Linked DNA regions of Homo sapiens: all the other regions are linked to region 4. Evidence: promoter capture Hi-C in 16 types of primary human blood cells and fetal thymus (Javierre and others, 2016). All regions are on one chromosome and are shown on one strand. Each heading gives the region's core, a stretch centred on a gene start or on the middle of the fragment in contact. The rest is flanking DNA. Distances are from core to core; before and after follow the strand shown. Region 1 overlaps ZNF524 (zinc finger protein 524). Region 2 holds the start of CCDC106 (coiled-coil domain containing 106). Region 3 overlaps KMT5C (lysine methyltransferase 5C). Region 4 holds the start of RPS9 (ribosomal protein S9). Region 5 holds the start of ZNF628 (zinc finger protein 628). Region 6 holds the start of ZNF444 (zinc finger protein 444).

The links. Contacts are between HindIII fragments. The CHiCAGO score rates a contact against its expected background, and 5 or more counts as called.
Region 1: a contact is called between a fragment that was not itself captured here and the fragment with the promoter of RPS9 in region 4, in 1 of 17 cell types (naive CD8 T cells). The highest score is 8.0, in naive CD8 T cells.
Region 2: a contact is called between the fragment with the promoter of CCDC106 here and the fragment with the promoter of RPS9 in region 4, in 3 of 17 cell types (total CD8 T cells, naive CD8 T cells and total CD4 T cells). The highest score is 6.1, in total CD8 T cells.
Region 3: a fragment that was not itself captured here is called in contact with the fragment with the promoter of RPS9 in region 4 in 1 of 17 cell types (erythroblasts); the score reaches 5.2 in erythroblasts.
Region 5: the fragment with the promoter of ZNF628 here is called in contact with the fragment with the promoter of RPS9 in region 4 in 2 of 17 cell types (naive CD8 T cells and total CD8 T cells); the score reaches 5.6 in naive CD8 T cells.
Region 6: a contact is called between the fragment with the promoter of ZNF444 here and the fragment with the promoter of RPS9 in region 4, in 1 of 17 cell types (total CD8 T cells). The highest score is 5.6, in total CD8 T cells.

The regions. Positions count from the first base shown.
Region 1 is chr19:55,600,726-55,604,792 of GRCh38, reverse strand. It overlaps ZNF524 (zinc finger protein 524), which reads right to left. Exons shown (of 2, transcript NM_153219.4): 2 at 1,655-2,718. The coding sequence starts at 2,680. The coding sequence ends at 1,886. Among named protein-coding and RNA genes, the nearest start is that of ZNF524, 2.5 kb to the right of the region's middle. RefSeq lists enhancers at 1-524, 1,628-2,178 and a silencer at 4,000-4,067. The HindIII fragment of the contact is 3,453 bases long and covers 1-3,424 here.
Region 2 is chr19:55,646,567-55,650,052 of GRCh38, reverse strand. It overlaps CCDC106 (coiled-coil domain containing 106), which reads right to left and starts at 1,841. Exons shown (of 5, transcript NM_001370470.1): 1 at 976-1,841; 2 at 744-848; 3 at 469-645. The coding sequence starts at 1,006. RefSeq lists an enhancer at 376-425 and silencers at 1,486-1,615, 1,646-1,765. The HindIII fragment of the contact is 17,145 bases long and covers 1-2,786 here.
Region 3 is chr19:55,341,686-55,345,559 of GRCh38, reverse strand. KMT5C (lysine methyltransferase 5C) reads right to left here. Exons shown (of 9, transcript NM_032701.4): 2 at 3,514-3,766; 3 at 3,180-3,345; 4 at 2,709-2,818; 5 at 1,717-1,880; 6 at 1,563-1,582. The coding sequence starts at 3,623. Among named protein-coding and RNA genes, the nearest start is that of KMT5C, 3.7 kb to the right of the region's middle. RefSeq lists enhancers at 114-919, 920-1,724. The HindIII fragment of the contact is 3,932 bases long and covers 196-3,874 here.
Region 4 is chr19:54,199,465-54,203,457 of GRCh38, reverse strand. It overlaps RPS9 (ribosomal protein S9), which reads right to left and starts at 2,600. Exons shown (of 5, transcript NM_001013.4): 1 at 2,570-2,600; 2 at 2,177-2,298; 3 at 1,849-1,971. The coding sequence starts at 2,273. RefSeq lists a silencer at 2,287-2,780 and an enhancer at 2,543-3,212. The HindIII fragment of the contact is 3,345 bases long and covers 594-3,938 here.
Region 5 is chr19:55,474,203-55,478,031 of GRCh38, reverse strand. It overlaps ZNF628 (zinc finger protein 628), which reads right to left and starts at 1,415. Exons shown (of 3, transcript NM_033113.3): 1 at 1,225-1,415. RefSeq lists silencers at 694-1,017, 1,150-1,349. The HindIII fragment of the contact is 2,239 bases long and covers 1,012-3,250 here.
Region 6 is chr19:56,138,882-56,142,593 of GRCh38, reverse strand. ZNF444 (zinc finger protein 444) reads right to left here and starts at 1,307. Exons shown (of 5, transcript NM_018337.4): 1 at 1,237-1,307. RefSeq lists enhancers at 1,345-1,484, 1,515-1,844. The HindIII fragment of the contact is 17,292 bases long and covers 1-3,712 here.

The DNA of each region.
Region 1 (4,067 bases), core at 449-2,948, 1.4 Mb before region 4:
AAGTACTTCCTTCTCTCCCCATCGCCTCCATAGCAGTCGTGCGCCCCCATCAGCACCTTCTAAGTCCCACCTCCAATACCCTGTTCCCTCAGAGTTTCTCCTTTAAGCCCCGGCCCCCGGCCCTCGGCCCTGAACCACGCCCACCTCAGAGCTGAATTATTATAAGCTCCGCCCCTCACCTTAAAATCCGTTCTCTTGGCCTGGCGTGGTGGCTCACGCCTGTAATCCCAGCACTTTGGGAGGCCAAGGCAGGCGGATTGCTTGAGCACAGGAGTTCAAGACCAGCCTGGGCAATATGGCAAAACCCCGTCTCTACAAAAAAAAAAAATACAAAAATTAGGCTGGACGCGGTGGCTCACGCCTGTAATCCCAGCACTTTGGGAGGCCGAGGCGGGTGGATCACGAGGTCAGGAGGTCAAGACCAGCCTGGCCAAGATGGTGAAACCCCGTCTCTACTAAAATTACAAAAATTAGCCAGGCGTGGTGGCGGGCGCCTGTAATTCCAGCTACTCGGGAGGCTGAGGGAGAGAACTGCTTGAACCCGGGAGGCAGAGGTTGCAGTGAGCCAGATTGCCCCACTGCACTCCAGCCTGGACGACAGCAAGACTCCGTCTCAAAAAAAAAAAATTAGCTAAATATGCTGGCGCCCGTCTGTAGTCTCAGCTACTCCGGAGGCTGAAGCAGGAGGGTCGCTTGAGCCTGGCAGGTCGAGGCTGCAGTGAGCGGTGATAGGGCCACTGCACTCCAGCCTGGATGACAGAGCGAGACCCTGTCTCAAAAAAAAAATTATCCGTCCTCCTTGCCCCACTCTCACGCAGTTCCTCCTGTTCTTCCCCAGCTCCAAGCCCCTACTCTCTATTAGATCAACTCTATCCATCCTCTTTAAACCGCTCTCACTTTCTGCGGACCAACCCCTAAACCTCTTTAAGCCCCACCCAACTCTAACCCTCTTCTAAGCCCCCGCCCCAGGTCCCAGCCTAACTGCCCCGCAATCTCAGCCCCACCCCTCGCTCCTTAGCCCCGCCCCAATCCACACCCCTTATCTCTAAACCTTACCCAGACCGTCCTGCTCATACCTTTGTCTTAATTTTTCCTTCCAAACAGTAGGTCCTCAGGACAAGGAGGTGGGGCAAAGTGGCTGCAGAATTTCTGGGAATTGGCTAGGAGAGAGGCGGTCGGACCTACAGTCAGGTCTGCATGGAAGGTTCAATGTTTTTAGTTAGATTGGATGTGTACTGGGAATACAGCTGACCCTTGAACAACAGGGGTTTGAACTGCAGGTCCATTGAGAGGCGGACGTTTTTTCACCCAAACACCGGTGGAACATACAGTATACGAAGGGCGGATTTTCCTACATCCGCGGGTTCCGCAGGGCCCACTGCTGGACTTGTGTATGCCCAGATCTTGGTATCTGCGAGGTTCGTGGAACCAATTCCCCGCGGACTCCGAGGGACCCATGGACTTTGGGGTCTGATGGAGATGGGGAAGGGGCCAAGGTTCCCCCCAAAACCATTCTTTGGCGAGCACCACGCTCATGAGGCACAGGAAGTGGGGTCCTCTCCAATTCCCCGCACTCCCGACAGGACGGTGTAGCCGAGGAAGAACATTTGAAGGCAGGAGAGGATGGCATCCCGGCACGGAACACACACAGGCAGCCAGCAGGCAGAGATTTATTTCCACAGCCCCTGCCTCCAAGGGTCTGTTAGTCTGGGGGAGGGGGGCTGAAGGCAGCTGGACCCCAAAGTTTAGGTCTCCACCCTCCACCTGCTCCCACAACGGGAAGACCACCGGAAACAAGGGTGTCCCGGCCCCCTGGCTCAGGCCCAGCACCAGCCAAACTCCCTGCTCTAAACCTGGCCCAGGGAGCGATGGCCGGGGGTGTGGGTCAGGCCGGCTCCCCTTTCCCCTCTGTCTCCTCCTCCTCCTCGGCCCCTGCTGTGGCCGGGATGCCCTCCTCGTCCCACGGCGGTTCAGACCCTGGATCTGGTGCACACAGGGGTACCCCCATGGCCTCCGGGTGCTTGCGCTTCGCATGGCGCCGGAGCGTGTTGGCCTCTGTAAAGCGCAGCCGGCAGATGGGGCACTGGTACGGGCGCTCCCCCGAGTGCACGCGGTGGTGGTGCGCCAGCTCGCCCGCCTCGCGGAAGCGGCGGGGGCACAGCGGGCAGCGGAAGGGCCGCAGGCCGGCATGGATGTTGCAGTGCCGCCGCAGGTGGCTGGAGCGCTTGAAGGTCTTGCCGCAAACCTTGCACTGGTGCGGCTTCAGCTCTGAGTGCGAGATGCTGTGGCGCTCCAGGTCGGAGAGGTAGGGGAAGGCCCGCAGGCACACCGGGCAGAAGTGTGGGGCCTTCCTGGGGCCAGAGCCCTCAGGCCCAGCCGCTGAACCTTCAGAGACCGTATAGGGCACACCCTGATCATCGATCAGGAGGAGGTCGCTCCCGCCACTGCTGCCTACTGGGGCTGTCACCCCCTGCACCTGCACCAGTGGGGGCTCCTGCCCTGACTTGGGGGGGCGGCCCCGCTTGCGAGGGAGGGAGGCCTTGAGTGTCCGATTTGAGGAGGTGGCTCCCCCAGGACGACGGCCTCGGCGGCCCCGGGGAACAGGAGGAGATAAGGCCAGAGGTTTCTCTTCCTCCCCGGGCAAAGGCGAAGGCAACGGGTCTGGGCTGGGGGTGTCCATTGAGCAGTGGGGGGCTTGGGTCTGGGCACTGGAGCCAGCTAAGAGGAGAGAGGGGCAGAGTCAGTGCTCACAGGGTCTAGAGCACCCCTGTGTCCCCCAACACCTCGCCCATCCCTCTCTCCAAGTCTCTTGACAAAGGTGTGTTTGACATTCATCCAGATACACAATTTTAGCTATGCTGGTGGGTAAAACAGTGAGATGATCTTGTATCAGCTGATAAACAGGCACTTCCCTGAGCTCCACCAGACATCCCTATGCCTCCCTAACTCTCCTTCTGGATCTAGAAGTTCAAGATCAACATGAGCAACACCCCTCCCCACCTCCCCACAAAAAAAAACCTTCCAGAGAGGATAGAGTCCAACTGAGAGTGCAGACCAGTATTGTGATCCTTGAAACGGAGAGCCCATCAAACTCCAGAGCCATAGAGGCCTCACGAATGCTCTCATCCCTCCCTGCTGACTGGCAGAAGTGGGGAAGGGGTTCCAGAGTGGAAAAAAGGGACTGGTCCCAGGTGATATTTGACCCTGATTCCTGGATGAGGAAACATATCTGCGATGTTAAGAGCCTGGGCCCTGGAGTCAAGACATCATTCGTTCAAATCTTTACTCTCTGCGTGGCCTTGGGCAAGGTGTTCGCTTCTCTAAGCCTTAATCAAGACTTTTGCAAAATGGGACACATAGTTCTACGTACTTGCCCAGACATGCCATGAGCATAATACCCACAAAGTGTTCATACACAGAAGCTTTCAGGACACATTAGCCATTGTTATCAGGAGCAGCTAAGCCTCACATCAACCCTCTGAATAGGGCATATCTGTCCCATTTTGCAGATGGGGAAACTGAGGCACAGGAAAGCCAAGTCAGTTGCCTAAGTTCCTCTGCCAGTAAATGGCAGGGCCAAAACTGGAAACAGGTCTTGTGACCCGAATGTCCCAGAGAATGGAGAACAAATAAACCCAAGGAGGAAAGGGGACATTACGAGGGCTCAGTCCTGGGTTTGAATTCAGCTCTGCCTATAACTAGCAATTGACTTTGCCAGTTTCCTCCTCTGAAAAGTGAATAAACCAGGGTTGTCAGGAGAATCGAATAAGACAGTGGGCTTTAAAATGCCCCTCGAACACTGCCTGGTGCACAGTAAGCACTCAATAAACTTCACCAACGCCACCACCATCTTCCCGGCGCCCACTCAGATACTGGGAGCATGGGATTGGGGTGTAACGGAGGGGAAGGGGAGGCACAGGTGCAGCTGGAAGCAGGTGCTGCAGGTGCCCCCCTGCACCCCCCCCTCCCCTTTAACAGCCACATAGACTGCTGTCCAGAGAGGAGCAACCACCTTTCCATACGGTTCGCTCCCACGGGGTAGCCTAGTCTAGGAGTCTGGTCTTTGG
Region 2 (3,486 bases), core at 592-3,091, 1.4 Mb before region 4:
CAGGAGGAGGCCGGATGGCTGGACTCTTGGATCTTGGAGAAGACAGGGACGGGAGGAGGAGCAGGGGCCCCCTGAGGAAACCCAAAGAACTAGGGTGGGCCTCTTGGCCAAAGAGATGAAGGAAGGTCCCCCTAGGAGTCAGAAGAGAGGGGCTCTCAGGTGCCAGGGTCCCTGAAGTCACCATGGGCCAAGGAAGCAGATGGCAGGGCACTGGAGGCTGATGGGATTTGGGGAGCTGACGGAGAAGGCAGGAGGACGGGCCCCAGTAGACAGTTCATGGGGATGAGGCCCTGGAATCAAGTGAGGAGGCAGCTGGGCCTGGGGGCCCAAAACAGGCAGGGGACTAGCAGATAGGGCCAACATGGCAGGTCCCACCCAGCCAGCCAAACAGTGGAGCCTTGAGTCTGGGTGAGCGGGTACCCAGTAGCGGGACAGGGAGGCATGTGGATCAGAGCACCCCACACACACCTGCCTCCATCCGAGCAGAAGAGATGAATTTGTCCAGCTGGCACCGCAGGAAGTCCCTCTCTTCCTCCAGGTCCTCGATGCGCTTCTGCAGCCAGGAGTTCCTCTCCAGAGCCATGTGCAGCTGGGTCTTGACGCTGTTCATCAGAGCCAGGGCGGAGGACGCAGCCTCCGGAGGCTCTAGGGACACAGCGAGGGTGGGGGGACCAGGTCACACCCTGGGACTCAGGGCTTGGCTTCCCAGCTGACTCCAGTCCCTCCACACCCCCTCAGCTCACCCTCGAAGTTTCTCCGAGAGGGGCTCAGACTGTAAAAGATCTGTGGGTCTAGGTGGGGTGCCTCATCGAAGGGAATGGAGATCTCGAAGGTCTCATCGTCCTTCACTGGAGAGGAGAGGCCCCGGGTTACCCCAGAGAATTCCCCGGGCCTCTCAGGCCACCCCCCAACCACGGCAGCCTGGAGCCGACCGCACTGGGACCCAGGGTAGGGAAGGGGACCCAGCTTCCTCACTTGTCCGCCTCCGACTGCTCCGGTCATTCATGGCGCGGCTTCCTACGGACCCCAGCAGCCGAGGGCCTCAGGGGCACTGGACAGAAACGGCAGCCACAAATGGAGAGACGCAGATGGACTGGAGGGTCCATCCTGGGGGAGGTGAAGTGAGACAGGAGGGACCTTCTGGCCTGGACCCCTGGTCTGAGGGAGGAGGGAGCCTGGACCCCAGGACTGAGGCAAAACGCGCCTGGGCTTCAAACTCCTGGGCTCCTGGAGTCAGGGGCAGGGGGCCCAGCCGCCTAGGTCCTGGGGGAGAAGTGAGCTGGGGACGTGGGCTCCTGGGTATCGAAGGAAAAGGAAGCTGAAGCCCTAAATTGCTGGGTGCCCCAAGGGGTCGCCTGACCAGGGACACCTAGCCTGAAGGGGAAGGACCCTCTCTCATCGCGGGCCACTGCCAGGCCTAAGGAAGAGGCAGGTGCAGGGGGAAACTGCCCCAACTTCCCAGGGTAGGAGGAGGTCCAGCCCGTGCGCGCTGCCTCCTCTACCTTCGGGGCCCCCACACCCCTCCCCCGCACTCGCGTGGGCGGGCGGACCGTCCCCCGGTGGTGGGGGCTGGGCGCGTGCGCAGTACGGGGAAAGGTCACGCGTGGGGGTGCGCCCCCCCCGCCCCCGCCCTTTGTCCCGCGGGTGGGAGGGGGAGCGGTCGTGGAACGATTCCAGCGGGAACATGCACTAGGGCGGGGGTGCAAACGCGGCCACCATCCCCCGCCCGCGGGTGCCCGGGGTCCGAGGGGCCGAGGCCCCCCGCGCTCACCCACCCGCTCGCGGAATCCGGCTCGGGGACCGACGGCGGCGGCGCCCATGCCCGGCGCCGGGGAGCGTCTGCAAAGTGTCACGGGGAGCCGAGGGAAGCGCCCACCCACCCGCGAACAGGCGGGGCGGCAGGGGAGCGTGTCGTGGAACTGAGCGACGGAACGGGCAGGGACGCGGGGACTCGCCCAGTCGGGCCAGGCTAGCGCCCCTCGTTGAAGAGTCCCCGGGTCCAGGTGAGGCCCGCCGTTTGCGGCAGAAGCAGAGGGTCTGCACTTGCGCGATAGCCCCTTACAGCACTCCCCCGCCCTCCCCGAAGCTCAGGCAGGGAACATCACGAAATTCCCATCCTGGAGAGCTGGCGAGTCTCCGGGGGTCCCCGGATTGGGTGGCGGTGTGCCCAATGGGCCCAGAAGGCAGGAGAGTGTTTGAGACACCGAGAAAGTTGGAGCGAAAGGAGAATCTACTTTTAACGCTCTCTCAGGAACTAGCCAGCGCGGACCCCTCAGAGCTCCCCTACCTCCTACAGCCAGACCCCAAGGTTCTCAGGGATGTGGGGGCCAAAATCGGGGGAGTTACCCCTCTCCCGGAAAATGAGGGCCAGGAACACGCCACCCCCATCCCCATGTTGGTAATTAAGAGCTGGCTTTGGAGCAAAGCTAGATTCCAGTCCTGACTGTTCCTGCTCCTCCCCAGCCTGTTAACTCACCTGCAAAATGGGGAAATTACAAGCCCTTCTAAATTTATTGTGAGGATGCAGTGATGCGACACACAGAAGCTCAGCCCAGCACCTGGCCATCGTCAGGGCTGAAGAGAGGAGCGCTGCTGGTATTATTTGAGGTCAGATGGTGGGGTATGATGGCAGCCTCTGGGAGGCTCTTTCCCACTCTGGGGAGTATGAACGGAAGATTTGTTCTTCCTCCCAAAAAAACAGGTCGGAAGAGCAAATGAGGCCTAGCACAGTGCCTGGCACAAAATAGGCAAGAAAAATGAATGAATAAGCAGATGTTTATTAAGCTTCAGGCTCAGCTCCACCTGCCTCTCCTGTTCACCAGAAGCATCCAAGCTCTGGACTGTGGCCAGCCCTTATAAGAGCAAGGTCTTAACCCGATGGAGGGAGAATCTAAATGTCTGCACCGCCTGCAAAGCTGTGACCATGATCCTCCCCTCCCCACTTTACAGATTAACTGCAGCCTGGTCCAAAAATTCCAGGGGGAGCCATCTGCCCTAGATTGGTCTTTTCCAAACTACAGGTTCATGGGTGGAGAATTCAATAGAATAGGATGAAATCAGCAGTTTAAAAAAATATTTAGCCGGGCGTGGTGGTGCACACCTGTAATCCCAGCTACTCAGGAGGCTGAGGCAGGAGAATCGCTTAAACCGGGGAGGTGGAGGTTGCAGTGAGCCGAGATCGCACCACGCTCCAGCCTGGGCGACACAGCGAGACTCCGTCTCAAATAGTAATAATAATAGTTGATGGAAAAAAAAATGCACAAACTAAAGCTAACTATGGTAAAGAAATTTTTGTGGGCCGGGCGCAGTGGCTCACGCCTGTAATCCCAACACTTTGGGAGGCAGAGGGGGGCGGATCACGAGGTCAGGAGATCGAGACCATCCTGGCTAACACAGTGAAACCCTGTCTCTACTAAAAATACAAAAAATTAGACAGGCATGGTGGCGGGCGCCTGTAGTCCCACCTACTCAGGAGGCTGAGGCAGG
Region 3 (3,874 bases), core at 912-3,411, 1.1 Mb before region 4:
CCTGACGGCCCCCAGACCAACCGGCCACTGCCTTCTGAGTGTGCCACCTCCCGCATCCTCATCCTCCTCGCCTCCCCGAGACCCCTACTGGAGTCAGCCCCTCATCACCTCTTTGTGGCCACCCTGCCTACAGCCTCTCCCCTTCCTGCCAAGCCTCCTGCACATGGGCCTCCAGGGTGACCTAAAAACCAAGCTTCCCATTATACACCCTGGGGGGAGCTTCCATGGCTCCCTGGCCCGGACCCCAAGGCCTTGCTGCCGGATCAAAGCCGTCGCTGGGCACCCCCAGCCCTCTGGTGTGCCGTGTCCTGCTAGACGCCCCCCTTTGCCCCTGATTTCCTTTAACACCTAGGGAAATTCTACTCCTCCGTCGATGCCCAGCATGGCTTCTGTGAAGCCAGATGGTTCTAGATCGCTGGAGAGCTGGCCGCCCTCTCGTGTGCTCAAGGTGGCTGGAGCACACTGGCCCTGCAGAGCCTCTCCGAATGCCGCCTTTTGTTTCCATCCCCCCCAGCGTCTGTGTGTGGTGTCAGACCAGGGCCACGCATTCGCTGTCCAAAACCCTCCGGCACACTTGACCAGCCCGCAGAGTTCCAGAGATCCTCACCAACCCCATCTGAGATGAAAAACCAAAGGCCAGGGGTGGCATCGCCAGGACCCCAACTCAGTTCTGACTCTGGAGCCAAAAATCTGGATCCCTTTGTCATGCCTCCCGGGGTGCCCCATCGAGGTCTGTGCTCCAGAGGGTGCACCCTCAATGCCGCCCTGGAGCCAACCCTCCTGATTCCTTCTGCTTCCGGGCTACAGGACAACCAGCGGCCTCTCCTGGGCATGTCTGGACAGCATCCTGAGTCCTGGCCCCTGGGGCTCTCTGGCCTCCCTGCTCCTGCCACCACAGCTGCCTGCGTTGTTCCCTGCAAGGCCGGGGGCTCCCACCACAGGGCCCTGCCTCCCTGCCACACTCCCTGCCCAAATTGGCACAGCTCCCAGCTCGGTTTTCAGAGAAGAAAGATGGCCAGCAGCTGGCAACCAGGGTTCCAGTGCAACTGCACAAACAGCCGGGCAACGCTGGCCAAACTGGAACCCCTTCCTCCTTTCTGGTAGCCTTGTGAGCAAATACCCACTCTGCCCCTTCCAGGACCCGTGGGAAGCCATGGAGACATGGGGCAGCATTTGGCTCTTTTTTTTTTTTTTTTTTGAGACAGAGTCTCGCTCTGTGGCCCAGGCTGGAGTGCAGTGGCGCGATCTCGGCTCACCGCAAGCTCCGCCTCCCGGGTTCACACCATTCTCCTGCCTCAGCCTCCCAAGTAGCTGAGACTACAGGCGCCCGCCACCACGCCCGACTAATTTTTTGTGTTTTTAGTAGAGATGGGGTTTCACCGTGGTCTCCATCTCCTGACCTCGTGATCTGCCCACCTCGGCCTCCCAAAGTGCTGGGATTACAGGCATGAGCCACCGCGCCCGGCCGGTGTTTGGCTCTTTACTGACCAAAAACCCTTTCCCCAGGCCACAGGCACCCTTTCTTCCTGCGTGCCCTCTCCTCCCGAGTCCCAAGGCCTTACCTTGCAGTTGGGTTTGCAGTCTGGAGCCAGTTGGGGCAGGAGAGAGAAGAGAGGTAGATGAGCTCGGCAGCTCAGTCGCAGAACCCTCCCACTACACCCCTCCAGCCCTGCCTGGCTCTATCCCGTCCTGCCCATCCACCTGCCTGACCCTCACCATGGTTGATGAAGGCGGCTGGGCCCAGCCACAGCTGAGCACTCCGCTTGCGGGTTGAGTACATGATGCTGAAGTCATTCTCACCGGCCCTCAGCAGCCCCTCATCTGCCTCCCGCAGCTCTGCAATGCAGCCCACCAGCAGCTCCAGCTTCTCATTCTTTTTCCTGCCAAGAGGCCAGGGGGCAGGGCTGTGGGCGATGCCTGGCCTCCTGCAGGTGTTCAGGGGACTCGGGCCTCCGGCACAGAGGCACCCAGGAAGGAGGGACTCCTGGGCGCTGGTGCTGGCTATTGGCGATCCATCTTCCAGATCTCCCTCTTCCCCTCCTGCCTGGGTGGGCTTCCCTGCTCCAGCCCACAGCCCCACAGGACCCTTCTACTGAAAGCCTTCAGGGCAGCACGCACACAGCAGATACAGCCCCCATTCTCTCCCCTCGCTCTCATAGCACCTCCTGCCCCCAAATCCCTCCTGCCTGGACTACCCCCTACTCGCCCCACCAGACCCTCAGGCGGGTGCTTCCCCTGTCAGTGTGAGCCTCGCCCTGGGAGCACTTGCTCATTCCTCACAGCTCCCCTGCAGCATGTACCAGCTGGGACCAGTGACTGCATGTTGACTTGTCTGCCCCCCACCTCCTCACCAGACTGTGAACCCCGCAGGGGCAGGGGCAGGGGCTCCTCATTGCACTCAGGGGTGTTTAACATGTGGTGGGGGCTCAGGTCACAAGGAGGTAAGGACAGCACGGCCCTGACCAGAAGCCTAGTTCTTTCCTGGAAGCCCCAGGAACCCTGGGGTCACATCCGGGGTCTCCTGCTCCAGCGGCACCACGGTAGCCACAAAGGTCTTCCGGGATTAGCCCCACCACCTTCCTAGGATGCCCGGAGGACCAGGCCCCTCGCTTTTCCCCGGTTGGCCAGTCCATGAACAGAGGGTCTCTCTTGTCCCCTCTGAGCTCTGTCTCCTCCAAGGATACCTGCAGGGAGTCCTGCCCTCTTACCAAGCACGAGTGGACACGATCTTGGCCCCGTTGGTCTCCATGGAGTAGCGCGTGCAGGGCAGGATGGTAAAGCCACTTTCCGGCAGGAAGGCACGGAGGTAGCGATAGACCTGGTGAGGGTGAGGGTGGGGGTGAGGAGGCGGGGCAGGGGCATCTTTGGCCCTCTCTCTCCAGGACTCTAGGCCTGCCATGCCACTGACTCACTGTGTGGTCTTGGGGGCCTCATGTTCCCTCTCGGGGCCTCAGTTTCCTCATCCGTCAAATGAAGAGGTTGGACTACATCTCAGAGGGCCCCCCCAACTCTCCTCTCCTAGGATTCTCTGAGCCTTGCCTCAGATGGTCCCAAGGGCTAGGAAGTCAGGGGGCCCCAGGGGCTGCGCTGAGGGACTCTAGAGCGTCTGCCAGGCGGGACCAGGCCCGGTGAGCGGGGAGGACACGCGGTGAGGGCGGGGGAGGGGAGGGCGCCCTCACGTGGGTCTTGAGGGCAGCCTCCTGCCGCGGGCCCCGGCTCTGGAAGTAGCGGGCCGTCCAGCCTCCCAGCGTCAGGGCCCGGTACGCAGCCTCCAGGTCCCGCTGCCTCAGGAAAGTTTCCAGCGCTGAGCGCAGGTGCTGCTGTCGCCGCAGGGGGGGCACAGGGCTGGGGGAGAGGGCATGCCTGGGTCCCAGGGCCTTCCCGGGCCCCGGCCCCAACCCCCACTTGGAGCTGAGGGGAGGACCAGGCTAAGGAGAGGGCCGAGGGGCGGCAGCGGTGCAAGGGGAGGGGTCCTGACCCCTCGGGCCCACCCTCGCCCCCAGGCCACCTCACCTGACGTTCATCTTATGGGTGCGGAAACCGAGGTAGGGGTCCAGGACGAGGCTGGTGGCCAGGTCGTCGTTCTCGCACAGTTCTCGTGCTGTCACTCTGTCGGGCCCCATGGTGCCCTGCGGACCATGCTGCCTCTGGCAGAGAGCAGGAGCAGGTGAGGGCAAGGCAGGCGCGGGGAGCCTGGCTTGGTGCTGACTCCACTCCCACGCTACTCAGAAGCCATGGGGGACGCTGGTGAGCCCCACGATCTCATCTGCAAAATGGGGAGAAAAGCAGTGCTGACTTCACCAGGCCGCTGGCGAAGATGGAATGCAACAAGTACTTCTGAGAGTAGGGAAAGCCCAGAGCCATGTCAGCCATC
Region 4 (3,993 bases), core at 1,351-3,850:
GCCAAATGTTGGCGGCTGTTCAGTCTTAACAGACGAGACTCAGAATCTCGCTAGTCACACATCTTAGTGGGAAAGGCAGGATCTGAATCAAGGCAGGATTACACCAAAGAGCAAACATCCAAGCTCCTCCTTCCTGTCCCTGACTAGGCTAGATGGCTTCATTTACTAGAAAGTGTACTCACCTGAACAACTGTGTACCCCTTGGGAATTTTCACTTCTGCCTTGGAAAACCACAAATAACCCTCAGACACCTGCACCGCTTTCTCACATGACTGTAAGTTTCATTGCAATTAGGATCTATGTCCAGAAAGTCCTCCCTAAAACCAGAACCAGCTATAGCCCACTCCCCACAGAACCCTGGGATGAATTCCCACCCAGCATCAGTATCTATGGGGGAGGGATCTCCAGCACTTTCATGAGATTATCAACGGGGTCTACAAATTGACGAAAAGAATGAAAGGGTCAGGTGCGGTGGCTTACACCTGTAACCCCAGCACTTTGGAAAGCTGAGGTGGATGGATCACTTGAGGTTAGGAGTTGGAAACCATCCTGGTCAACACTGCAAGATCCTGTGCCTATTTAAAGAAAAAGCTTCTAACATCTGCAAGCCTGGGACAAACTGTGATAATCTGTAGCTAAACATGCGCCAGGACTTTCTCAACGCCTAACATGGATGACCACTCTCATGCCTAACAGTCAGGGCTCAGGTGTAGAGACTGCTTTTCACCATAAATCATGACTACCCAAACTCAGGCAAAAGCAGCGTCTCAGGATATACAAATGCCAATCTTGGTCATGCCAATCTGCTGTAGAAAGCACTCCAATAACACCGCATCTCAGAGTAGATTTTAAAACAAGATGGTTAAGATGGTACATTTTCAATTTAATGTGTATTTCACCACAATTAGTAAAGTAAGCCTAAGTCTATGTGATCTGCATGCCCTCCTAAAGTCATCACCTGAAATGCTGTTCCCTGAGACATTTTACAGGTTCTCTCCTGTTCAGGCCTTTGCTAAATACCACCTAAATGTCCTTGACCAGCTTAAAAAAACAAGCACCAGCCTGGACAACATGGTGAAAACCCATCTCCACTAATAATAGAAAATTAGCCAGGCTTGGTGGCCCATGCCTGTGATTCCAGCTACTTAGGAGGCTAAGACAGGAGAATCGCTTGAACTCTGGAGGCGGAGTTTGCAGTGAGCCAAGATTGCGACAACTACACTCCAGCATGGGCAATGGAGCGAGACTCCGTCTCAAAAGTAAAATTAGCCAGGTGTGGTGGCGTGCGCCTGTCTGTAGTCCCAGCTACTTGGGAGGCTAAGATAGGAGAATTGTTTGAACCCAGGAGGCGGGGGTTGCAGTAAGCCGAAATGGCGCCACGGCACTCCAGCCTGGGCAACAGAGCAAGACTCCGTCTCAAAAGACTAAATAAAACGAGAAAACTTAATTAAAAAAACAATAAACCAAGCAAATGTGCAAACCCTGTTATCACCATCACTTAGCCCAGAAATTCCACTTCATAGTCTACTCTCATCCACTAGCAAACAGGCCACATAAACAGAATATAAAGATATAGACGGGTGCCCAGGTGTGCCAGGCCTATCTTTAGCTCTGGTCATTACTAAACTGAAGGTCCAATAACTGGGCAAAAAAGCCACACACCTAAGAAACAGGGCAAAGACTGATCCAGATACACTTTTCCTACTCCACAAGTGCCACTAAAAGTTAGAAGGCTGGTTCCATTTATCCAATGACACAACTCTCATCACTGGAACAGAGGCAACAGAAGGGAGAATGAACCTCACAAGCCCTGCACCCCATCCCTCTGCTGTGGACTCCCATACGCACCTTCGAACAGACGCCGTGGGTCCTTCTCATCAAGCGTCAGCAGTTCCCGGGCGGCCTTGCGGATCTTGGCCAGGGTAAATTTGACCCTCCAGACCTCACGTTTGTTCCGGAGCCCATACTCGCCTGGTGGGGAGAAGGGGGTGGACAAGTGTAGTCCCACGTACTGGCACAACAACTAGACTGGCAGCTTTGGAATCACAAAACCTTCCTAAACCACGAATAGTACCAAATTTAGGGGACGGACTAGATAGAGTACATGGGCACCTTCATCCACGTGCTAACCGCCTCCCGGAAGCCGAACCACTTCCCGGAAGCCTTGGCCACTCACCGATCAGCTTCAGCTCTTGGTCGAGACGAGATTTCTCGAAGGGTCTCCGCGGGGTCACATAAGTTTTGCGACAAACCCAGCTCCGGGCCACTGGCATGTTGGCTCCGCTTCCCCGTCTGCGCCTGCGCGGGAGAGAAGTGTGAGCGTAAGGGATCCAAACGGCGCCTGCGCAGTCCCACAACTACGCCAAAACCTCGCGGAGCCCAGATCCGATCTCGCGAGAATAACCTCCAACGCTCTCATAGTCAGTATCTGCCCCCACAACCGTGCTGCACTCCCGTTCAACCACCCTGCTCTGTTTCCTAACGTCTTTAGCTTACTCATGGAAACTCGGAAGGCCCGGGCCACCATCCAACCCAAACCCTAGAGAAAAAGCACACCACCGCACCTCACCTAAGCAAACCACCCGGTCACTGAGAAAGAGGCGCGGAAGCGCCACGGCTGCGCTCTTATAGTAACGCCGGCGTCTCGTGACGTTTTCACGCACCACGCACGTCAGAGCCAATCAGAAGAGGCGTTGGCTGGCTGAGAAGCAGTGGAGACGTGAGGCTGGGCTAGAGCGGCGTGCTAACCTGGGAGGACTAGGTTTTTTCCGGCCAGGGAGTGGAAACCTGAGAAGTAGGGAGAACCTTCCTTCTCCGCCCCTGGACGGTGGTTTTTCTTTTTCTTTCTGAGACAGGGTCTCGCTCCGTCGCCCAGGCTGGAGTGCAGTGGCGTGATTTCGGCTCACTGAGGCCCCGACCAACCTCTCGGGCTCGAGCGATCCTCCCACCTCCTCCCCAGTAGCTGGGATTACAGGCACACGCCACGACGCCCGGGTAGCATTTTTTTTTTTTAACAGTCGGCGTCTTGCCATGTTGCCCAGGCTGGTCTTGAACTCCCGGCCTCGAGAGAGCCTCCCGCCGTGGCCCCCCCAAAGTGCTGGGATTACAGGCGTGAGCCACCGCGCCCAGCCGAGATTATTTCTGTCACTAACAATAATGTGGCATTCTGGAACGCTATGTGCCACATACTGTTCTAAGAATTTTAAATGTATTTACTCAATCTTCAATACATACTTACAGAGCACTCTCAGAGAAGTTGCCCCCCCACCCATGGTACTATTATTATCAATAGCCACTTAAGGGGTATTAGTACTATTATCAGTAATTTATTTTATTTTTGAGACGGAGTTTTTCGCTCTCGTCACCCAGGCTGGAGTGCAGTGGTGCGATCTCGGCTCACTGCAACCTCCGCTTCCCGGGTTCAATCGATTCTCGTGCCTCAGCCTCCCGAGAAGCTGGGACTACAGGCGCCCACCACCATGCCCGGCTAATTTTTAAATTTTTAGTAGAGACGGGGTTTTGAACTCCTGGTCTCCAACGCCTGACCTCAAGTGATCCACCCGCCTCAGCCTCCCAAAGTGCTAAGATTACAGGTGTGAGCCACCGCGCCTGACCTAGAGTTCTCTTTTTATATATAGTCTGGTTATTGTCTGTCTGTACACCCATCTCTCCACTCCGAATGCGATGGTCTGTCTCCACAGCTCGTGTTCTTCAGTTGTCTTCCCTACGCTGCTGCCTCGGCAGTCACTATCTCCTCAGGAAGCAGTCCCACCCGCCCCTTTCTCTTCCACGGCATCCACACCATCCGGATGCCTGGATTCAAATGCCACGTCACCACTTGCCAGCTGCAGTGCCTTCGACAAGTTTCTCAATCACTCTGTGCCTCAGCGTCCTCCTCTGTAAAACGGCGAATGATGGTAGCGCCTACCTCATAAGCTTGTGAGGATTAAGTGAGAGTCTATCCAGTGTTGAGGAGAGTGGCATAAATAAAGC
Region 5 (3,829 bases), core at 166-2,665, 1.3 Mb before region 4:
AGTGTCGCCCCTGGGGAGCACCGTTGCCCCCAGATGAGAACCGCTACTATATAACCAGTGTGCTTTCTGTTTTATTCTGCCTCCCCATGCTAGAATGTCAACGCCGGGAAAATAGGGGCTTCTGTCTGGTTCACTGTTGTATGCCATCCCAGTGCCTACAATAATGTCTGGCAGAGTGTGTGCGCAGTAAACAAATTTTAAATGAATGAAGGCTAGGCATCCCCGTCGGACAAGCTACAAGAACTTGTGTGTTTTTTTTGTTTTTTTTTGGAGACAGGGTCTCACTCTGTCACCGAGGCTGGAGTGCAGTGGCGCGATCTCGGCTCACTGCAACCTTCGCCTCCCGGCTTCAAGCGATTCTCCTGCCTCAGCCTCCCGAGTAGCTGGGATTACAGGTGCACGCCACCGCGCCCGGCTAATTTTTGTATTTTTAGTAGAGACGGGGTTTCACCATATTGCCTGGGCTGGTCTTGAACTCCTGGCCTCAAGTGATCCGCCCGCCTCGGCCTCCCAAAGTGCTGGGATTACAGGCGTGAGCCACCGCGCCTAGCCAAGAACTTCCTTTTTAAAAGATAAGTGTACCCTTTAATATGTAAGCAGGTTAGATCGCGCCACTGCACTCCAGCCTGGGCAACGGAGCAAGACTCCGTCTCCAGAAAAAAAAAAAAAAAAAAAAAACAAACCTACTGATGCTAAGAAGCTGCACGTGCCTTTGAGAAGCCCCAGCATCTCCTTAAAAGAGATATCCGTGCCCTGAAAGAGCGGGGTCCCATTTAACAAGAAGACATCCCCTTTAAAAGGCCGCGCCACACCCGTTCAGCAGGCTGGACCTCCCCTTTAAGGGGATGCTGCCACTGGAGCCCCATCTCCACTTTTGTTGAGCTAAACCAGGGATCGCTTTGAAGCAACCAGGACTCAGGAGTTTTTGCTTCAATGTCTGGGAAACGGTCACTGGCCTTTAATGAGATAACCGCCTTTTAGGGGAAAAACATTGTTTTAAGTCAGAAAGCTTCTGTAAAAATGCAAAGCCTGACCCGCCCTCTCAATGTGGCCCCTTGCCCTTTAAGAGGGCGGACCCGGCCTAGCTGGCAAATGTCGGAGGTGAAATAGTGACTCCCCTTTAAGGTACCCCTTCCGGTTTCACGCCCCCCCCCCCGCCCCACCCCCTGCAACTTCTCCGCCCTCCGGTCCCTCCCCCCACCCCCACCCCCTCCGGTCTCTCACCTGCGGCCCCAATCGGGGGAACGAGGGTGGCAGCCCCAGGACCTTCCCGCGGGGGTCGACGGGAAGGTGGGGCCCCGGCAGCGGCGGTGCAGCTGTGGGGACCGGGGAGGGGGGGCAGGGGCGCACTCCCTCCCAACGGCCCCCGGCGCGAGGCACCCAACCTTTATCGGCGGCCTCTCGCGCACACAAACCCCGACGTCGCCGTCGGTGCGTCACAACGCACGTACTCCGAGTTCCCGCCCCCGGACCCTCCCATTGGCTGTGCGAGGCCTCGTCGAGCTCGGGCGCAGGCGGTGCGCGGCATCCTGGGAGTTGTAGTTCTCCCAGTTGTGGTCGCGGACTCCAGTTGTCAGGTCTTGGGGGCCGAGGCCCCGGTGAGCCCAAGGCCAGGGACGGCCAGCTCGAGACGCGGGGTCGCAAGTTCCCCTTATTAATCCCGATTCCCTCTCATCTGCAAAAAAATCCTTCCATGCACCACGGTTGTACAAAAATCCCTCCCGTGAAGCGGGCCCCGCCCCCAGGGTGTAATCGCTCCAGCGGGAAAACGAGGCCTGGAGCGCTTCCAGTCCCTCGGTAGAGCCACGTGCTCAGGATTTTCGGGCGTGTGCTTCGTGCACGCTCATCCAGACGCTGCAGAAACCTGGTTCCTGCTGGGCAAAGGTCTGTTCTGGGAGGCTGGAATCCACAGACTCCTTGTGGGGCCTAGGGTTTTAGTGGGAGACCGAGCTGCTCCAAAGCCCCTCTCCACGCTCAACCCCCGCCCAACCCAGCGTTCCAGCCACACTGGCTTTTCTGAGGGTCATTAAACGCAGTTTCTCAACCAGAGCACTAGTGCCATTTGGGATGGATTCATTGCAGCGGGGACTGTCCTACACACTCTAGGGCCCCCACTCACTAGATGCAGGTAGCATCCCCAGCCCCGCTCCACACACCCCGTAGGAGAGCTCAGAATATCTCCAGATAGAGATTTTCGCGGTGGCTCACACCTGTAATCCCAGCACTTTGGGAGGCTGAGGCAGGCAGATCACTTGAGGTCAAGAGTTCAAGACCAGCCTGGCCAACATGGTGAAACCCCGTCTCTACTAAAAATACAAAAATTAGCCGGGCATGGTGGCAGGCACCTGTAACCCCAGCTACTCAGGAGGCTGAGGCAAGAGGATCGCTTGAGCCCAGGAGTCGGAGGTTGCAGTGAGCCAAGATCGTGCCACTGCACTCCAGCCAGGGTGACAGAGTGAGACTCTGTGTTAAAAAAAAAAAACAACAACAACAAAAAGAATATCTCCAGACATTGCCACATGTTCACTAGTTGAGAGCCACTGCTCAAAGGCAGTACCCTCAGCTTGAAGACCATTCTGCATGCTGTTTCTCAGGCCAGAAGGCCCTTCTACCCTTAACCCATCCCTGCCCAGCAAGATCCCACTGGAAAGCCTCCTGTGCTAGGTGGTGTCCCTCTTACATGCTCAGCGACATTTATCTATGTCCCATGACAGCGAGGACCTTTCGTGTCTTTGCTGCCCAGGTATTCCAAACAACCAGCATGGGCCCTGATGGAGAAGCAGACGGTACTTGTTTGTTGAATGAGTGGATTTTTCCAGCCTCCCACACCGTTTCCCAAGTCCACAAGCAGGCTGGAACTCAGGGCTGATCTGCGGTGGTGTGGACCCACCCCTACCTTACAGGGTCTTGGTGCTGATGTCTCCGTGCATTCGTGCGTGTAAAAACCCTTGGCATCCAGCTCAGCCCAACATTCCTTTCACGTCAGCATTAACCACACAAAGCGGCTGCCATGCAGGGTGGAGACGTGGATGGGAATGCACTGCCCAGCTGGCTGCCAGGCTAGGAAAGCCCAGAGGTGCGGATCCCACTTCCGTCCCCCTTGCCTCGGGCCATTTTGGTCTCTGCAGTAGTGAAAGGGGCCCTCAGCTCAGCCCCCCTCATTTACCTGCCCACGCAGAGGCATTACAAAAGGGATGGGACACCCAGCCTGGGCAGTACAGCAAGACCTCATTTCTACAAAAAATAAGCTTCCTGTGGTGTACATACCTGTAGTCCCAGCTACTCAGGAAGCTGAGGTGAGGGGATCGCTTGAGCCTGGGAGGTTAAGTCTGCAGTGAACCGAGATTGTACCACTGCACTCCAGCCTGGACAAGAGAGCGAGACCCTCTCAAAAAAAAAGAAAGAGAGATTGGCATGGCTAAGACTGGCTCTTACTCTCCTTAACATTCCCCACTTTGCAGCCAGAAGGTGAACAAAGGTTTTGAAGTCAATGGCCTTGGGCAACCTGCTGTCTCTGAAAAGGTGGTGTGGATTCAACAGGTTTGTTTTCAGAACAGCCTCGCAGCCCCTTGGAGACAGTGACCGGAGGAAACTCAGGCCAGCCTTGTGTCCAGCACTTTCCAGGCCAAGGAGGAGTCTCAGGGACCCAGATGGGGAGGTGGGGTTGTCTCCTAACCCCCCGGAACATCTGTGTAGCCCTTCAAGGGATGTTGTCAGGTCCCTCATGCTGACAAGTAAACAGAATCAGCTGGGTGCAGTGGCTCATGCCTGTAATCCCAGGCCTTTGGGAGGCTGAAGCAGGCGGATCACAAGGTCAGGAGTTCGAGAC
Region 6 (3,712 bases), core at 58-2,557, 1.9 Mb before region 4:
CTCGACATTAATGGCACTTGTGTCGTGGCGGGCTATCCTGTGCAACATACGATGTCTACCAGCATCTCTGCCTCTTTTCATGAGATGCCAGTAGCACTTCCCAAGTTGGAAAAACCAAAAAAAAAGTCTCCAGACATTGCCACATGTCCCCTGGGGGACAAAACCACTCCTGGTTGAGAGCCGCTGGCCCACTGGACAAATATTTACCTACGGCACAAAGGCTCTGGGGCAAATTCCAGCTCTGCCTCCTACCAGCTCTGTGTCCTTGGACGAGGTACAAGGCACCTTTTGTAATACCCTGTATCTCCATTTCGTTGACTGTAAAGTGATAGAAGGAGAACAAAAATGCTGAGAACCACACCTGGCTAGTAAGTGTCCAGTCAGACTTAGGGTTACTTTGTCGAAGTTTCCCTGCGAGGTGCCCAGGGGACACTGCTATGAACACGCACGCAGATTAAAATACTAAGTATACATTGGAATAGGCGTTAAAATCGGATATAGAGGAGGGTGACTCCATCCTGACTGGGGTAGAGGTGGCGGGGGTCAACTTCATTTGACAATAAACAGAGTTTCTAAGCACTTTACACATATTACCGAAGGTAATAATGCCTTGCAACAAGCTAAAAAGGCAGATGCTCCGCACTGAGAAAGCAGCAAAACAGAGCAACGATTCTTATCTTCAGGAATCTCACAACTCTGTAAAAGTTGCACTTGTAGAAGCAGCGCGCAAAACGAGCCACCTGCGCCGTATCTACGTTACAACAATAACCATCGTCCCCGGAAGCCCCTTCCCGCAAACCTTTCCGAAGGGGTCCGGTCCCGGCGCCCCCAGACTCCTTTGTAGGGTCCAGCTTCCCACTCAGCTTTCATCTCACAGCCCACCCTCTGCTAGGGTCCCCTTCCCCTCCCCCACCTGTCCCTCCCCCGTCCCGCCCCTCCCCCTCCCCCAGGCGCCCCTCCCCCGTCCTCTCCCTCAGCATTTCTCTCCCGCGTTCAGGACCTCGAGGATCCACGACCCCCTCCCACTATCCACCCCTCCCCCTCTCCAAGTCCCTCCCCCTCTAGTTCCCTCTCCCAGCCCCTTCCCCATCACTCAGCCCCCTTCTCCTCCCCTCCCCGCAAGTCTCCCATCTTTCCCTCCTGAGGCCCCCGGCGCCCCTCTTCCCATCCAACCTCTGGTCCCTCCCTCGTCCAACCGCCCCCACCCAATCCCTCCCTCCTTCCCCCCTCGCTCACCTCACTCTCTCAGGCGAGGCCCCCCAAGCCCCCTCACCTCCCCGCACATGCGCACAAAGCTCGCCGGGACTCCATGCCCCAGCAGGCTTTGCGCCAAACTCCCCCGTCCCCCTCCCCCAATCCCATACTCCGAGCCGCTCGTTCAGCCCAACAACTCCCCATGAAGCCCCGGCCTCACCCCGAACTACAACTCCCAGGAAGCATCGCGGCAAAGGCGGCTGCCAATTGGCCCTCGCCTGGGGACCGCCTTACTCCTGTTTGTCACCGCGTGGCGTCTTCGCCAACACTGGAACTACATTTCCCAAGATACGCGAAAGCGTCGTCTGCAGCCTATTTGGCCTTGACGGCGCAAATGTCGCGGGCTGTCTGAGCGCGACAGGCTTTGGACTACATTTCCCAGAATGCACGAGGAGGCTTCCCAGTGGTCTGCGCGCGGGCCCTGGACATGCGCAGAAGTGCCGGGAAAAAAAGAGGGAGGAGGAGGAGGAGCCATGGCGGCGTTGTTGTGGAGATCAGGGGAGGCCGGGCACCGCCGGGCATTTGGGAGGTGGGGCCTCCGGAGCTCTAGAAGCTGGCAAGCGAAGAGGAGGAGGAGGAGGAGACCAGGCTAGAGTTCTGCGCCAATCAGGAGTGCAGGCTACGTCTCCTTGACTACGGATCGCATTTTTTTTTGTCCTCCCTCTCCACCCGGGCAGAACTTAAGGGCCGATGTCGGTGCCAGGAATCAGGACGTGAGCAGGCTGCCCTCCTGTTCCGGGGTGGGCAGTGGCTCAGGAGGGGGCCAGCGCGGGGGCCTCGGTTTGGCTCTTCCTGTGTGTGAACCTGGACAGGACACCGCCCTCTCTTTAGCCTCAGTTTCCCCTGGGGTGAATTGGGGGACAGCGCTACCTGCCACGCGTCCTCGCTGTGCCCCTATTGGACAGACTACTGCCCCGTCCTGAGGCCTCAGTTTCTGCATCTCAGAACTGTGAAGAAGCATATTTGGATTTTAGAGCAGACAGACATCCTAAGAGATCAGCTGAAGTTTTTATCTAGACAGTTCCAGACCTGATTATGGCTCATACAAGCCCTACCCCAGCCCGCAGCGTATTTCCTCCTCCGTACAACAAGGATAAGAGAATCCCCCTCCCATCCTCCACCTCCCCGGCTGATCTGAAGACTCCGCGCCATAAAAACGAAGACAGTGGCTTACCCATAACAAGCATTCATTACATGGAAGTTGTTCGTCTTATATTCATAAATGAACAACTTTCCCCAGGTTTCACAAGCGATGAGTGGCTGACTCAGAACTTTGTGACCAGTTTGCCCACGGTGGCCTAATCTGCCCTGGCCCACCTGTCTACCACTGTCTTCTCCTCGTGTTTAATGAGTTCCAGTCATGCCTCCTTTCTGCTCCTAGAGCACGCTGATCTTCTTCCCACTCATATCCGATGGCCTACTTGACATCTCCTCTTGGATTTCTTAATAGGCATCTCAAACCTAAGGTGGGCAGTAGATAATTTTTCACTCTCTCCCCCACCTTGCGAAGAAATTTGTTCCTTCCCATTACTCCACCATCTTAGAAAGCAAGTCCATCTTCACCCAAATGTTGAGGCCAAAAATAGAAAAGCAGCCCTTGATTCTTTTTTCTTTTTTTTTTTTTGGTTTTTTGTTTTGTTTTGTTTTGTTTTTTGATACAGGGTCTGGCTGTGTTGCCCAGGCTGGAGTGCAGTGGTGCGATCACAGCTCACTGCAACCTCCGACTCCCAGTCTCAAGTGATTCTCATGCTGCATCCTCCTGAGTAGCCAGGACTACAGGCGTGCACCACCATGCCCAGCTAATTTTTGTATTTTTAATAGAGATGGGGTTTGCCATGTTGGCCAGGCTGGTCTCGAACTCCTGGCCTCAAGTGATCTGCCTCCTCGGCCTCCCAAAATGCTGTGATTGCAAGCGTGAACCACCATGCCCAGCCAATTCCTCTTTTTCATCACCATCCACATGCAATCTATCATCAGGTCCTATTGGCTCTGTCTTCAAAATAGATGCAGAATCTGTCCACAGCTCTCCCGTCTATGGCTACCACCTGGTTTAAGTCCCCATGGCCTCTTTAGACACTGTCATGCTTCCACTCTCGCCTCTTCTGCCTCCTGCCCCTCAGTTCCTGCTCCACACAGCGCCAAAGGGATCTTTTTTTTTTAATTGTGGTAAAATATATACAAGATAAAAATTACCATCTTAATCATTTTTAAGGTACAGTTCAGTAGCATTAAGTACATTCAAGCTAGGCCGGGTGTGGTGGCTCACGCCTGTAATCCCAGCACTTTGGGAGACCGAGGCGTGCGGATCAGAAGTTAGGAGTTCGAGACCACCCTGGCCAACATGGTGAAACCCCGTCTCTACTAAAAATACAAAAATTAGCTGGGCATGGTGGCGGGCACCTGTAATCCCAGCTACTCGGGAGGGTGAGGCCAGAGAATCTCTTGAACCTGGAAGGTG